Regions from separate parts of the Homo sapiens genome. Here regions 2, 3, 4, 5 and 6 are each linked to region 1. Evidence: promoter capture Hi-C in 16 types of primary human blood cells and fetal thymus (Javierre and others, 2016). All regions are on one chromosome and are shown on one strand. Each heading gives the region's core, a stretch centred on a gene start or on the middle of the fragment in contact. The rest is flanking DNA. Distances are from core to core; before and after follow the strand shown.

What was found. The method cuts DNA at HindIII sites, captures the fragments that hold promoters and counts their contacts. A CHiCAGO score of 5 or more calls a contact.
Region 2: a contact is called between a fragment that was not itself captured here and the fragment with the promoter of BCL2A1 in region 1, in 3 of 17 cell types (naive CD4 T cells, total CD4 T cells and naive B cells). The highest score is 6.5, in naive CD4 T cells.
Region 3: a fragment that was not itself captured here is called in contact with the fragment with the promoter of BCL2A1 in region 1 in 2 of 17 cell types (naive CD8 T cells and naive CD4 T cells); the score reaches 8.6 in naive CD8 T cells.
Region 4: a contact is called between a fragment that was not itself captured here and the fragment with the promoter of BCL2A1 in region 1, in 2 of 17 cell types (naive CD4 T cells and total CD8 T cells). The highest score is 5.9, in naive CD4 T cells.
Region 5: a fragment that was not itself captured here is called in contact with the fragment with the promoter of BCL2A1 in region 1 in 4 of 17 cell types (total CD4 T cells, total B cells, naive B cells and 1 more); the score reaches 6.3 in total CD4 T cells.
Region 6: a fragment that was not itself captured here is called in contact with the fragment with the promoter of BCL2A1 in region 1 in 2 of 17 cell types (megakaryocytes and endothelial precursors); the score reaches 6.6 in megakaryocytes.

The regions. Positions count from the first base shown.
Region 1 is chr15:79,969,791-79,972,490 of GRCh38, forward strand. It overlaps BCL2A1 (BCL2 related protein A1), which reads right to left and starts at 1,406. Exons shown (of 2, transcript NM_004049.4): 1 at 910-1,406. The coding sequence starts at 1,329. RefSeq lists an enhancer at 830-2,029. The HindIII fragment of the contact is 17,831 bases long and covers 1-2,700 here.
Region 2 is chr15:79,408,535-79,411,234 of GRCh38, forward strand. It overlaps a transcript of TMED3 not described here. Among named protein-coding and RNA genes, the nearest start is that of MINAR1, 22 kb to the right of the region's middle. The HindIII fragment of the contact is 1,566 bases long and covers 535-2,100 here.
Region 3 is chr15:79,362,266-79,364,965 of GRCh38, forward strand. It overlaps a transcript of TMED3 not described here. Among named protein-coding and RNA genes, the nearest start is that of TMED3, 53 kb to the left of the region's middle. The HindIII fragment of the contact is 3,282 bases long and covers 1-2,700 here.
Region 4 is chr15:79,316,419-79,319,118 of GRCh38, forward strand. All of the region lies in intron 2 of TMED3 (transmembrane p24 trafficking protein 3), which reads left to right. Among named protein-coding and RNA genes, the nearest start is that of TMED3, 6.7 kb to the left of the region's middle. The HindIII fragment of the contact is 3,346 bases long and covers 1-2,700 here.
Region 5 is chr15:79,388,632-79,391,331 of GRCh38, forward strand. It overlaps a transcript of TMED3 not described here. Among named protein-coding and RNA genes, the nearest start is that of MINAR1, 42 kb to the right of the region's middle. The HindIII fragment of the contact is 5,671 bases long and covers 1-2,700 here.
Region 6 is chr15:79,344,777-79,347,476 of GRCh38, forward strand. It overlaps a transcript of TMED3 not described here. Among named protein-coding and RNA genes, the nearest start is that of TMED3, 35 kb to the left of the region's middle. The HindIII fragment of the contact is 2,280 bases long and covers 113-2,392 here.

The sequences.
Region 1 (2,700 bases), core at 156-2,655:
TATGGATAGATTCAGTAGGCATGTTTTGCATGCAAAATAATTGATAACAGTGGTTACCTCTTGGGAGAGGTGAAGGCCGTTGGAGAGAGGATCAATGAACACTTAAGTGCTTTAAAAAAATAATTATTAAGTATATTGGAATATAAAGGAAACCATATACATCCAGCTGTGTCAGGCTTTTTACCAACATGAGTTTCAACACAGGCCTCTACATAGTCTTGGCTTTTTTAGGCACTGATAATAAAGTAAATTTTTATTTGAAAATTCTTGAATAAAGGTTCTTGCTGGTCATACAGTATATTATGTTTTAATCAACAAACTTTAACAGCCCGGAATTTATTATTAGTAATAATGTGTTATATATTATATGTAATGTAATTTGCTATATATTAATATATGTTACTATTTATTATGTATTAGTAAACTGAAAAACACCAATTTGTAAGCGATGAACTTACAAAAATTTACACCTGTCTTTTGCAACCCATAAATACCTAAAAATAACAGCATCTGATAGCAACTTTCTGTGCTGATTGTAGAAATTTCTGTACTGTCTGTACTGTCATGACAACCCTAGCAAAAGCTAAGTACTAGATTAGAGTGTGTGCACAGCTGATTGTGAAGCTGCATGAGAGAGGTGCTTTATTAATCCCCAAAGCTCACTACTGTAATTTATACTGTTAAGAATAAAAACTGAAAACATAAGTGCTTTCCAACTATAAAGTTCAAGTTCAAGGATTCATTGGAAATAAGCCAGAAAGTATATTTTTATTTTAAAAATTAAAACAAACCACCCAAGGAAAATAGTATTCTTAGGTAAAGTGTTTTGTTGTTGTTTTAACTAGCAAGGAAATTCTCAATTTCTATTTCACAGGAAAGAACAATGAAGAATTTTTCCATCACACATACCCAGCCTCCGTTTTGCCTTATCCATTCTCCTGTGTTATTCATTATGAACTCCGCAACAAAATATGAAATCTCCTTATAGGTATCCACATCCGGGGCAATTTGCTGTCGTAGAAGTTTCTTGATGAGAATACCTTCAAATGCAAATATGGTTACAATTCTTCCCCAGTTAATGATGCCGTCTTCAAACTCCTTTTCCATCACTTGGTTGAATAGTGTTCTGGCAGTGTCTACGGACACAACATTAACATTGTCCAAGCATGACTTCAGATTCTTTTCCACTTCTTTTTGGACTGAGAACGCAACATTTTGTAGCACTCTGGACGTTTTGCTTGGACCTGATCCAGGTTGTGGTATCTGTAGGACGCACTGCAGATAGTCCTGAGCCAGCCTGTAAATATATCCAAATTCACAGTCTGTCATCTTCTGCCTGGTGGAGAGCAAAGTCTTGAGCTGGCTCACCTTGAAGCTGTTGAGGCAATGTGCTGAGAATGCTCACTGAGCTTGACTGAGTTATGACACATGATGATACATGGAGGCTGGTGGAATTTCTGTTTGCATCACTTTATAATATCCTTCCTCCTAGTCACTTTCGTGCGTAGGCTGTGTTTCATGTCATGTATGAAAGAGAAAGTTTAAAATGTGAAAGAGGAAAATGTTTCAGAGAAGCCACTTCCTCATCCTGTGATTAATTCAGCTTTGCAAGTCTTAAATGCAGGATGTGGAGAAATTAGAATCCTTGTAGATTGCTGGTGGGAATGTGAAATGGTACAACCCCTGTGAAAATGTTGGCAGTTTCTCAAAAAGTTAAATACAGAATTGTCAAAAGACCCAGCAATTCCATTCATAGGTATACACCCAACAGATACTCAAATACTTACATACGAATGTACATGGCAGCACTATTCACAATAGCCAAGATGTGGACACAACTCAAATGTTCATCAACAGACGAAAGGATAAATAAATTATGGAACATTATTCATCCCAAAAAAGGAATGAAGAACTGATACATGCTTCAACAGGAATGAACCTCAAAAACATTAGGCTAATAGAAAGAAGCCAAACAGAAAAGGTCATACATTATGTGATTCTATTTCTATGAAATATCCAGACAGTTAAATCCATAGGATAGAAAGCAAATTGGTGGTTGACAGGGGCTGAGAAGAGGAAGGAGTAACTGCTTAATGGGTAGAAGGTTTTCTTTTGTGTGATGAAAATGTTTTACAAGGCCGGCCGCGTTGGCTCACGCCTGTAATCCTAGCACTTTGGGAGGACAAGGCGGGCGGATTGCCTGAGCTCAGGAGTTTGAGACCAGCCTGGGCAATATGGTAAATCCCCGTCTGTACTAAAATACAAAAAATTAGCCAGGCGGGTGGCGTGTGCCTGTAATCCCAGCTACTCGGGAGGCTGAGGCAGGAGAATTGCTTGAACCCGGGAGACAGAAGTTGCAGTGAGCCAAGATCACGCCACTGCACTCCAGTCTGGGCAACAGAGCGAGACTCTGTCTCCAAAAAAAAAAAGAAAAGAAAATGTTTTGCAGCTAGATAGAGGTGGAAGTTGCACAACACTGCGAAGGTACTAAATGCCACTGAATTGTTCACTTTAAAATGGTTCTGTGAATTTCAAATTTAAGAAAAGTCTTAAACGCCATCCACGGGGTAAACCGGAGTAACGACAATTTGGAATGGAGACTACAAAACAGCCTGGGTGGCAGAGAACAGGGCCTCTCGAGGTGACTCTGGCAGTACCGCCCTTGATCATTTGTAATTGAGTAAGGATGATACCGAGAGG
Region 2 (2,700 bases), core at 68-2,567, 560 kb before region 1:
GAAACTTCAGGGATGCCTAAATGTGAGTGAGAGGAGGAAAGAATTGAGCCACGGAGACAGAGAAGGAGTGGGAAGAGAGGTGTGGGGAGAACTCAGAGAGAATGGCCCCTGGAAGCCAGAAACCCAGGGTCCAGATCTGGGATGGTCAATTCTGTGCTGTGTGGCTTTGCATAAATCACTTGACCTCTCTAGGGTTTCATTTTTCTCACCTTTAAAATGCAAGTGGTGAGAATTCCTGCCTCCCAGCCTTGTGCGATTCAAAAGAGGAAGGGCATAGAAGTACCACATGAAGTATTTTAAAGGTATAGCATCTTTCCCAGGGCAGAGAAGAAGGGCCCACGGCTTCTCTGTATTCACATTTTTATCTCACTGTGAATCTCTCTTTTGGTCTCTGTAATTACATTGTCCTAATACAACTTAAATTAGAAAGATACAAGAAAACTTGACTCAATATAGATTTCTTTGTTAATTTAAGTACAGAGCTTCTCTCAAAAGCTTGATTCCATGATTGCTTTTCTGAAGCCTAAAACCTGAAGCTTATATTCCTGAAGCCTATAACCTGCATTACTAAGAGGGCAACAAGAAGTCTTTAATGCCTGGCAACACATTTCCAACTGCAGGATGCATCCTATAAGGACAGGTCGAGGAGTTACAGTCTGCAAGTGCAGAGAGAGACTTTTCTTGATGAGCAAAGGTTCATTTGAGGCACTACTTTGGAACACTCCTTCTCAGTTCAATTTGGCACTTTCAGATATTCAGTGCCAATCTTCCAACCAAAGGATGTCCTCACAAATTTCTATAGATAAAACCATTATAGGAAATCAATGCGCTCCTGCATTTTCCAGTATAACACAGCCACAATGCCCCAGATATAGGCAGGGGAACCAAGAGGTAATGATTGGAGGTGGGGCAAGGGAGGACCCGTATTCCATTTGCAAAGTCACAAACACTGCTCAGAGTTCATGCAAATGGGCCCGCTAACATTAATTTGCTGGACAATTGTTTCCCAGTGTGAGCCTTAATTTCTTCATGTGTAAAATAAGGTCGTTGGAATAGATTTCTTATACATCTCTTTTAAAAAGAATATTCTGTGTTCTTTATTGACCATTCAACCAAATAAAAGCACTTTGTCTGAATGTTTTCCTCAGCCTTCTGCTCTTATTAGAAAGTTTTGGTTCGTATTGTAAGAAAAGAATGCCTTTGGTTTGCCTGGAGCCGAGTGACAGCTATGTATTATGGGTGAAATTTTGTTAATAGTGAAGAGGCCAAGGTTCTAGTTTGGCTGCAGCAAACAACTTGCCATGTGACTGTAGATTAATCATTTTGCTGTTCTGAGCCCAATTTTCCTGAACTGTAAAATAAGCTAGAGGATACAGAAGAAATTGGTAACCTTAGTTGCCCCTGTAGAGGGGTAAACTAATACCCGAAGATCCATTTTAGGAAATTTTGTGCTGAGTTTAGATAAGAGGTATACTAGATTGGATTGGTACTTTTCACTACACCCTATGCTCCTTTCATACCCGATGAATTTTACGCCGCACACATATGCCACCTATTCATTAAGTAAATAATTGTTTAAAATGAAAAATAAGTTCATAGGCCTGGGAGGTTTATATATTTCCTTCCAGAAACATAGCCCATAATTCTATATGCTTAGAATGGTTTATAGTGTTCCCTTTCTTTATCAGCCTCATGGTTAAATAAACAAGACATTAAATATTATAGATTCATAGAAAACTAGGTAAAATGACAAAGCAACCCATTCTAATTCAGGATATTAATAATTGTGAAAAGACCCAATTTTTCCCATCGGAATGAAGCATCTGTTCCTTATTACTGACAGTATAGGAGAGGGTGACGCTGTCATCTAATTGCATCTTCCTAATTGGGGAGAGCACTTGGAGGGGCAGCTGTGATGTGGCCAGCAAAAGAGCACAACTATCACAAAGGCAGCCAGCATGCCAGACAGGATGTTCACTGCAACTGGATGAAAATTGGTTTAGGTAATACAGTAAATTCCATCACCAGCTTAATTTAACAGGAAATGACTGCTATTGGGGACCTACAAAATATTCCTTGAAGATTTCCCATAGGTGTTTAAGCTTTAAATTGTGGAAAAAAATAAGATACATGTGAAATATATATATGTGTATATGTGTGTGTGTATATATATATATATATACATTCTCGTAGATGCATGTATATGAATAACAGCCCAGGATAAAGGAAAAATAAAATTATGAAAGTTGGCAGCAACCTCTCAGAAGCAATGATTTGCAAGTGCTTCAATCTAAATTATAATTTCCCAAGTCTATCACAATACATTTCCAGAAACATGTCCTGCCTTTTTAATGAAAATATATTGACAGGAATGTCACATCTATACGATAGTGTTTTATGTGTCTTTTGACCCCTGATGTCAAAGCATTCTCTTTATATTTGTCTTACTGATTTGTAACCCGAGAACAAGAAACATGCTGGTTGCTCATAATTAGCAATAGCAAAGAAATTTTCAGAATTCCAGAACTGATCATTTTATTTAATCACTTAAGGTATGCGGGAAGAAATAGTTGCAGAGATATTAGGTAACTCACCCGGGGTCACACAGGCATCCAGGGGAAAAACAGGAACTAGAGCCTGTTCAATTTATCTTGTGGTTCCCAAGAGCTCCCCATTTCTGGCAGGTGAATGTGTAAACTT
Region 3 (2,700 bases), core at 132-2,631, 610 kb before region 1:
GAACAGCCTGGGGCATATAGTGTGATCTTGCCTCTATAAAAAAAAAAAAAAAAAATTAGCCAGGTGGTGGCATGCCTGTCCAGCTACTCAGTCTTCCTGAGTTCCAGCTACTCAGGAGGCTGAGGTGGTAGGATTTCTTGAGCCTGGGAGGTTGAGGCTGTATGAGCCTTCATCATGCCACTGCACTCCAGCCTGGGTGACAGAGTGGGACTCTGTCTCTAAAAAAAGTTTAAATAAAAATTAAAAGTTAATATAAAATATTTATTTATGTATAAGAATTGATATGGTTTGGCTCTGTGTCCTCACCCAAATCTCAGCTTGAATTGTAATAATCCCCAAGTGTCATGGGAGGGACCTGGTTGGAGGTAATTGAATCATGGGGGCAGGTTTTTCCTGTGCTGTCCTCATGATAGTGATTAAGTCTCATGAGATCTGATGGTTTTATAAATGGGAGTTCCCTGCACATGCACTCTTATCTCTGCCTGCTGCCATGTAAGATGTGACTTTGCTCTTCCTCTGTCTTCTGCCATGATTGTGAGGCCTCCCCAGCCATGTGGAACTGTGAGTCCATTAAATCTCTTTTCTTTTTAAATTACCCAGTCTCAGGTATATCTTTATTAGCAGCATGAGAACAGACTAATACAAGAATAATTGCAAACATTCTAAAAACAAAAAAGAGGGATAAGATAATGTGTGCTATCAGATAATGTAGCATTTCCAAGTTACAGTATGAAAATTGTTTGATTAGGGGTAGACTGACTGACAAAACACAGCAGTCCAGAATCAGATGCAGGTATACACAGTAATTCATTAGATGAGAAAAGTTTATGTCAGAGGGAAACAATGGACTAGTGAATAAATAGATTAGGAATAATTAGGTAACTATTTGAAAAAATAGTTTTATGTCTTGTATCATATATGAACACAAATTCCAGGTGGATTTGAATGTTTAAAAAACTGCACACAACAGAAAATATAGGTAATTGTTATTTACACATCCTTTATTTCAGAAAGAACTTTCTAATCATACAACAAAGGTAGAAATTATAAGAACAGATTAATAGACCAGACTAAAAACTTGTAAAACTTCTGTATATCAAATATAAAAAATGACAAACAGCAAACCAGGAAAAATCCTTGCATACTGTATCACAAAGAAATGGCCAGTGACTTTATATTTAAGGAATGCTTATAATTTGCTTTTTAAAACTCCAAGTGACAAAGAACTACAATGACTCAAAAAAAAAAAAAAAAAAATCTCCAAGTGAAAAATGACAGCCAAAGAGAGAAACAAGTCATTCACAAAGGAAACACAAATGGCTGATGAGTATATGAAAGTGACTTCACCCTATTTGATGATATATAATATTTTTACTAAAACAATTACAGTTTACAACTGAGCAGCAAAACAATACTTTTAAAAGGAAATTGTTAATTTTCTCCAGTTTTAACGTAAAGCAAAGGCAGATTTGATTATTTTTGTACTCTAAACTCCTTTCCATTGTTACCAAACCGAACTTGGGTCCACCCACCTGGTGCAGCAAAGCTCAACACTGACACCGGGATCGCAGCAAGACAAAGTACGGCCTTTACTACAGGGTGCCAAGCAAGGAGAATCGGGAGGCTCATGCTTAAGATCCAAACTCTCCGATGTCTTACAGGTAAGGGTTTTTTAAGTCGGAGAGGCAGAGATTACAGCCAAAGGCATAAATCAATATAATGCAGGATTTTTGCTCCTTTAGCTCAGCTAGGTCCAGGTTCTTGTCTCACAACCAGGAAAAATTAGGCATGCGGACACCATAGAGTGAGTGGAGTAGTATTTTTTAAGCAAAAGGAAAGCTCTCAGCAAAGAGAGGGGTCCTGAAAAGCAGGTTGCCGGTTGGCCCTTCACAGTTGAATACAAAGGCTTTTTATATAGAAGCTGATGGGACTGGGTTCCCTATTTGTATAAGGCACGAATTCCTGGTGGCTCCACCCCCATTCCCCCAGTGTGCATGTGGGCTCTTAGTCCCCTGCGGGCATGTTTAAGCAAGCCCCCTGTGCAAGTTCCCTTATATGCATAAAATATCTGGTGTAAGCACTTGTGGGCCAGGTCGGAGGTTCTCCGGGGGCTCTTTCTTTACTGTCTGCCTAAAGCAAGCTGGCTAACTCCTTTTGATACGGATAGGAGACAGAGAAATACTGGGTAGAAGAGGTCGGTTCCCCAGCAAAGGCCCCACCCCTCGAGCCTGGAGCCCCATGGCCCTAAGTGGGAACAGGCATTTCTGTTTTCATTCCCAAAAAGTTGTCTTTTGGCCTGCCATGCCCCGATCCTGCACCCATATAAACCCTGAACCCCAGGTTCCAGGAGCAGACAAGCAGATGAGGAGATGAAACACGCAGATGAATGGTGGAACGACACAGCAGAGAAAGAGAGAAGAGGAGGAATGTCTGAACACCGAGAGGAGTTCAGCTGGGGGCTGTCAGAGAGGAGTTTGGCCACTGGATGGCCAAACTCTAGGGGCAGATCATCCTCTCACTGCATCCTCCCAGCTCCCCATCCATCCCTCTGAGAGCCACCTCCACCACCCAGTAAAACCCCACATTCATCCTTCAAGCCCATGTGTGACTTGATTCTTCCAGGACACTGGGAAAGAGCTTGGGATACAGAAAGGTGTCACACCGGCCCTCTGCCCTTGCAAAAAGGCAGAGGGTCCATTG
Region 4 (2,700 bases), core at 1-2,500, 650 kb before region 1:
CCCTGGTGATCTAGGAAGGATTAAAGGTTTTCTTAAGTGCTCTGATGCCAGCTTCTACTTCCCTGTCTTTGAGTTCTTGAAGAATTTGAAGAAGCAGATACTTGGGTCAGGGGAGGCCTGATGAGGTGAGGGCTGCAGGAATTTGTCAGTGGTTACAGACTGAAGACCTCGGCATCCGCTGGTGGCTGGGACAGGATGGGATGTCAGCGTGGAGATGGAGGAAAGGGATGGTGCCAGAGGTGGGATGGGTCAGGGTGTCCTAGAGACCGACAGTCACCATGAAGTGGCAACTATAATCCCTGTGAGGCTCCAGGACACTGGAAGCCAGCCAGGACTGGTGGTCTTAGCAGGGCGGAAGGTCACACACGAGGAGACCTGGGGACTCGTGGCCTGGAAAAACAGGACCCTGAAAACAGAGGGGTTCTGTTGGTTTTCTGCTGGGTGGGAAGCTGGCTGAGGGACTGCCTAACTGAAATTTTGTGGTAACAGGCTGAACAAGTTTGCTTTAGATGAGCACTAACTGAAGATCTCAGCGGATGGGGAAGTAGCATGTTTTTGTGGTGAGGGTGAGCATCCAGGTAGCTGTGATTCTTGGGGATGATTCTCGGGGATGTATTGCTCTGGGGTCTCTTGCAGCGTCTGTGCAAGGTCCTGAAGGCGTCTGCAGGTGTTAGTTGCCAAGAAAGCTGTAGAGTATCACCTGTTGCTCCGTTACCCTCTTGGAACTGGTCCCTTTGCTATCACTGATCTGATCTGAGATTGTTCCTTTAAAGGCCACGAGGCCTCTTCATGCAGTCTCCGTGCCGGTTTCTGGCCTGTGTCGCTGGATCTAGGCCTTTAAAGTGATGCTTCACATAAATATCTGACTCATCCTCTGTCTTGGTGTCTACACCTGTGATTTCTGTGTCCTCCCTCTTCTTTTTCCCTTCCTCCTTCCTCTCCAGTGACTCTGGGTCCTGGGAGAAGGCTGGAGATGCTGACCAGTACTGCTGAATTCCCAGGCCAGGGCCTACGGTCCAAGGAGTCCCCAGTCAAGTGAGTCTAGTTGTACACTTTGTTTCTGAATGAGTTTGTGACACATAAACTTGGAGAATGGAATTATAGCCTGGAAAATCAAATGAGCCCTTCCACAGTGTTCTCTGCGGATTTGTACATACAAACATGTATGCATATGTGTACATATGAATACATATGTGTGTGTGCCACACATACATATACACATATACTACCTATGACCATGATACATACATGTATACACTTATGTGTGTGTCTCCATCCCTCCCACTGATTTCAAGAATGATCCACTTTGTTATGAAGTCCTGTGATTTCAGTGCCATCAATTTCCCTCCAGTCCACTCTTCCCTGACATGGCGACCTTCTTAACCGAGGCCTGCATCTTCTCTTCCCAGTAGAATTGCAGCCACCTAAGTGGTTTCCCTGCCTCTAAACTGGTTCGCATACATCCCTTTCTGCATCATAGCTGCCAGAGGCAGATTCTCGTAAAGTGGGATTCCGATCTTGCCAATCTTCTGCTCACAGAGCCACACGATAAAGTCTTGGACCTCGAGGCCCTTTACTGTGAGCTTCCACCTCCCCACAGCTGCTTCTCCACGCATCCCCATCACCATGTCAGTCCCTGATCCCAGACCAGGCCCTGTACAGTTCTTTGCCTGTGCTTCTGCTGCTTGGGATGTGTTCTCAGCCTGGTGACGTCCTGCCCATCCATCAGGGCTCAGCTTGTCGTGTCCCATGTCAAGTACTCCATCTTCTCTGGCAGGCTCAGCATCTTTCTCCTGGGGTGTTCCTGCCGCTCTGCATACCCTTCTGTTGTTGGCTGTTTATACTGCATTCTAGTTGAGTAATTTTTTCTTTAAATTGGGAACTTTCTGAGACCCAGGACTGTGTCTGGCTCTGATTCTTAATTCCCTGGGCCTAGCACAGTGCCTGGAAGGAAAGTAAGCATTGAGTAAATGTTTGAATGAAGGAATTAGTGGAAGTGTGAGCTATTCAAACTCAGCCATGATTTGAAATCCTTGTAACCTCATCCTACAAGTGTCTATCCTGAGTCCCCCAGCCCCACCTTCAATCCTTTGTGATTTTCCAGGGATCACCAGGGTGATGTAAATACAGAACGGATTTGTGTTACCAAGTCTGCCTGTATAGGTAGTGCCTGGCAGGGAGCACTAGGGAGGCTTCTAGAAATGGCATATCTTGAGTTAGCTTTGACACAGGTTCACATAGGTTAAGCCCGACTCCACATTGACCTCTTTCCTGCTTCCTTCCCAGTTTAGTGTCCTGTTCCATCTGTGACAGCTGACATGCTTTAGTGAGCTTTGGAAGCATTCCCCGGAGAGCTAGGAGGAGCAACCACAAATGCGACCATTGTCCCCAGTGCAGAGGCCTACACCTGAGCTTTCTTTTCTGGTGGTTGGCCTTTGAAGCCAGTTGGCTTTGGAAGTTCCCTTTGGAGTCAACTTCCTGATGTCTGGAACCCTTCTTAGGATCATTTGTTCCTTTTTCAATATCAAATGTCTGCAGGTATAGCCCACCTACCAAATGCAGGGAAGTGAAGAAGTCCAATGCTGACTACACTCCAGTTGTGAAAGATGATATGTAGCCCAAAATAATAGAGGATAGAGGATGTCACTGAGAAAACAGGACAGAGGTACTCATGGGGGACAAATAGGCTTGTTCTTCACT
Region 5 (2,700 bases), core at 122-2,621, 580 kb before region 1:
GATCAAATGTAATTCTAGTTTTAGTTCATGAAGTAATCTTCACTCTGTTTTCTATAGTGGCTGTACTAGTTCCTACCAGCAGTGTAAAAGTGTTCCCTGATCACCACATCCCCACCAACATATACTGTTTTTTGGTGTTTAGATTATGGCCATTCTTGCAGGAGTAAGGTGGTATCACATTGGGTTTCGATTTGCATTTCCCTGATCATTAGTGATGTTAAGTATTTTTTCTATGTTTGCAAGCCATTTGTATATCTTCTTTTGAGAATTATCTATTCATGTCCTTAGCCCACTTTTTGATGAGATTGTTTTTTTTCTTACTGATTTGTTTGAGTTTGTTGTAGATTCTGGATATTAGTCCTTCGTTAGATGTATAGATTGTGAAGAATTTCTCCCACTCTGTGGGTCGTCTATTTACTCTGCTGACTGTTCCTTTTGCTGTGCAAAAGCTATTTAGTTTAATTAAGTCCCAGCTATTTATCTTTGTTTTTATTGCATTTGCCTTTGGGTTCTTGGTCATAAAATCCTTGCCTAAGCCAATGTCTAGACGGGCTTTTCCAATGTTGTCTTCTAGAATTTTTATAGTTTCAGGTCTTAGATTTAAGTCCTTAATCCATCTGGAGTCGATTTTTGTATATGGTGAGAAGTGAGGATCCAGTTTCATTCTCCTACATGTGGCTAGCCAATTATTCCAGCACCATTTGTTGAAAAGGGTGTCCTTTCCCCACTTTAAGTTTTTGTTTGCTTTGTCGAAGATCAGTTGTCTGTAAGTATTTGGGTTTATTTCCGGGTTCTCTATTCTGTTCCATTGGCCTATGTGCCTGTTTTTATACCAGTACCATGTTATTTTTGGTGATTATGGGCTTATAGTATAGTTTGAAATCAGGTAGTGTGATGCCTCCAGACTTTTTCTTTTTGCTAAGTCTTGTGTTGGCTATGTGGGCTCTTGTTTGGTTCCATATGAATTTTAGAATTGTGTTCTCTAATTCTGTGAAGAATGATGGTGGTATTTTAATGGGGATTGTGTTGAATTTGTATATTGTTTTTGGCAGTATGGTCGTTTTCACAATATTGATTCCACCCATCCATGAGCATGGGATGTGTTTCCATTTTTTGATGTCATCTGTGGTGTCTTTCAGCAGTGTTTAGTTTTTCTTGTAGAGGTCTTTTGCCTCCTTAGTTGGGTATATTCCTAAGTTTTGTTTTGTTTTTGCAACTGTCATAAAAGGGGTTGAGTTCTTGATTCGATTCTCCACTTGGTTGCTGTTGGTGTATAGAAGAGCTACTGATCTGTGTACATTAATCTTGTATCCAGAACCTTTGTTGAATTCCTTTATCCATTCTAGGAACTTTCTGGAGGAGTCTTTAGGGTTTTCTAGGTAAACAATCATATAATCAGCAAACAGTGACAGTTTGACTTCCTCTTTACTGATTTGGGTGCCCTTTATTTCTTTCTCTTGTCTGATTGCTCTGGCTAGGACTTCCAGTACTACGTTAGGGAAGAATGGTGAGAGTGGGCTTCCCTATCTTGTTCCAGTTCTCAGAGGGAATGCTTTCAACTTTTCCCTATTCAGTATTATGTTGGCTGTGGATTTGTCATGGACGGCTTTTATTACATTGAGCTATGTCACTTGTATGCTGATTTTGCTGAGAGTTATAATCATGAAGCAATGATGGATTTTGTCAAATGCTTTTTTCTCCATCTGTTGAGATGATCATGTGATTTTTGTTTTTAATTCTGTTTATCTGGCGTATCACATTTATTGACTTGCGTATGTTAAACCATCCCTGCATCCCCAGTATGAAACCCACTTGATCATGGTGGATTATCTTTTTGATATGTTGTTGGATTCGTTAGCTAGTATTTTGTTAAGGATTTTAGCATCTATGTTCATCAGGGATATCAGTCTGTAGCTACCTTTTTTGGTTAAGTCCTTTCCTGGTTTGGCATTAGGGTGATACGGCTCCATAGAATGAATTAGGGAGGGTTCCCTGTTTCTCTGTGTTGTGGAAGAGTGTCAAAAGGATTGGTACCAATTCTTCTTTGAATGTCTGGTAGAATTCTGCGGTGAATCCATGTGGTTTTGGACTTTTTTTTTAATTTTTAAGTTACCATTTCAATCTCACTGCTTGTTATTGGTCTGTTCAGGGTATCTATTTCTTCCTAATTTAAATTAGGAGGGTTGTATTTTTCCAGGAATTTATCCATCTCTTCTAGGTTTTCTAGTTTATGTACATAAAGGTGTTCATAGTAGCCTTGAACCATCTTTTATATTTCTGTGGTGTCAGTTCTAATGTCTCCCATTTCATTTATTATTGAGGTTATTTGGATTTTCTCTCCTCTTTTCTTGGTTAATCTTGCTAATGGTCTATCAATTCTATTCATCTTTTCAAAGAACCAGCTTTTTGTTTCATTTATCTTTTGTATTTTTTTTTTCATTTCAATTTCATTTAGTTCTGCTCTGATCCTGGTTATTTCCTTTCTTCTGCTGGGTTTGAGTTTGGTTTGTTCTTGTTTCTCTAGTTTCTTCAGGTGTGGATGTCAGTTAGAATGTCAGTTTGTGCTCTTTCAGTCTTTTTGATGTAGGTGTTTAGGGCCACAGACTTTCTTCTTAGCCACACCTTTGATAGGTTTTGTCATTATTGTTGTTCAGTTTGAAGAATTTTTCAATTTCCATCTTGATTTTGTTTTTGACCCAG
Region 6 (2,700 bases), core at 3-2,502, 630 kb before region 1:
TTAACAAGAGTAATTTGTACGAAACATTGGAGGCAAAGACTTCACTGTAGTGAGCCCAGTGAGATGAGGCAGTGTGAAAGGGAGACAATGTTTTATAGGAGTTTAACTTTAAAGCTTTGCTGTGTTTGAGCAGTAGCCGGAAGGAGATGTGGAAGAGACTGTTTTTGTTTTATAATTTGAGAGACAGAGCAGCATATGGGAATTTAATGGAAATGCTCACAGAAAGAGAGAAAACAGGGGGACAATGAAAGACATATAAATATAGAGAGCTACCAATCAGGAAGAAGAGGACCACCAACTCAATAGAAAGACTGGGCCAAAGATCCAGACAGGGAAGAAAAATAGAAAGCTCTTTTTAAAAATTTATTTACTTTATTTTTTATTAACTTTTAAGTTCAGGGGTACATGTGCAGGTTTGTTACATAGGTACACTGGTGTCATGGGGGTTTGTTGTACAGATTATTTCATCACCCAGATATTAAGCCTAGTACCCATTAGTTATTTTTCCTGATCCTCTCCCTTCCCACCCTTCACCCTCTGATAGGCCATAGTGTGTTGTTCCCCTTTATGTGTCCATGTGTTCTCATCATTTAGCTCTCACTTATAAGTGAGAACATGCAGTATTTGGTTTTCTGTTTCTGCATTAGTTTGCTAAGGATAATGACCTCCAGCTCCATCCGTGTTCCTGCAAATGACATGATCTTGTTCTTTTTCTGGCTGCATAGTATTCCATGGTTTATATGTACCACATTTTCTTTATCCAGTCTATTATTGGTGGGCATTTAGGTTGTTGATTCCATGTCTTTGCTATTGTGAGTAGTGCTGCAATGAATATACACATACATGTGTCTTTATAACGAAACAATTTATATTCCTTTGGGTATATGCCCAGTAGTGGGATTGCTGGGTCAAATAATATTTCTGCTTATAGGTCTTTGAGGAATCATCACACTGTCTTCCACAATGGTTGAACTAATTTACATTCCCACCACCAGTGTATAAGCATTCCTTTTTCTCCACAACCTCACTAGCATCTGTTATTTTTTCCCTTTTACTAATAGCCATTCTGACTGGTGTAAGATGACATCTTCTCATGGTTTTGATTTGCATTTCTGTAATCATCAGTGATGTTGAGCTCTTTTTTATAAGATTGTTGGCCACGTGTATGCCTTCTTTTGAAAAGTATCTGTTTATGTCATTTTCCCGCTTCTTAATGGAGTTGTTTGTATTTTTTCTTGTAAATTTGTTTAAGTTCTTTATAGATGCTGGAGTTAGACCTTTGTCAGATGCATAGTTTGCAAAAATTTTCTCCCATTCTGTAGGTTGGCTCTTCACTCTGTTGATAGTTTCCTCTGCTGTGCAGAAGCTCTTTAGTTTAATTAGATCCCATTTGTCAGTTTTTGCTTTTGTTACAATTGCTTTTGGTGTCTTTGTCATGAAGTTTTGCCTGTTCCTATGTCCAGAATGGTATTGCCTAGGTTGTCTTATAGGGTTTTGATATGGTTAGACTTTGTGTCCCCACCCAAATCTCATTTTAAATTGTAGATCCCATAATTCCCATGTGTCGTGGGAGGGACCAGGTGGACATAATTGAATCATGGGGGCTATTCCCACCATCCTGTTCTCATGATAGTGAATAAGTCTCACAAGATCTGATGGTTTTATAAAGGGCAGTACCCCTGCACATGCTCTCTTACCTGCCACCATATATATGTGCCTTTGCTCCTCTTTCACCTTCCACCATGATTGTGAGGCCTCCTGAGCCATGGGAACTGTGAGTTCATTAAACCTCTTTTTCTTTATAAATTACCCAGTCTTGAGTACATCCTTATTAGCAGCATGAGAACAAACTAATCAGGTTTTTATAGTTTTGGGTTTTCCATTTAAGTCTTTATTCCATCTTGAATTGATTTTTGTATATGGTGTAAGGAAGGGGTCCAGTTTCAATCTCCTGCCTATGGCTAGCGAATTCTCCCAGCACCATTTATTGAATGGGGAATCCTTTCCTCATTGCTTGTTTTTATCAGGTTTGTAGAAGACCTGATAGTTGTATGTGTGTGGCCTTACTTGAAACATCATCAATAATGAGCTCTGAAATTGAGCCAGTAATAAATAGCCTACTAACCAAAAAAGCCCAGGACCAGAAGTATTCCACAGCTGAATTCTACCAGATGTACAAAGACGATCTGGTAGCATTTCTGCTAAAACTACTCCAAAAATTTAAGGAGGAGGGACTCCTTCCTAATTCATTCTGAGGCCAACATCATCCTGATACCAAAACACGGCAGAGACACAACAGATAAAGAAAACTTCAGGTCAATTTCCTAGATGAACATCAGTGCAAAAATCCTCAACAAAATACTGGCAAACTGAATCCAGCAGCACATCAAAAAGCTTACCCACCATGATCAAGTAGGCTTTACCCCTAGGATGCAAGGTTTGTTCAACATATGCAAATCAATAAACATGATTCATTACATAAACAGAACTAAAGACAAAAAACCCACATGATTATCTCAAGAGATGCAGAAAAGGCTTTCAATAAAATTCAACACTGCTTCATGTTAAAAACTCTTAGTAAACTAGGTATTGAAGGAAAATACCTCAAAATAATAAGAGCCATCTATGACAAACCCACAGCCAACATTATACTTAATGGGCAGAAGATGGAAGGATTCTTTGTGAAAACTGGCACAAGAC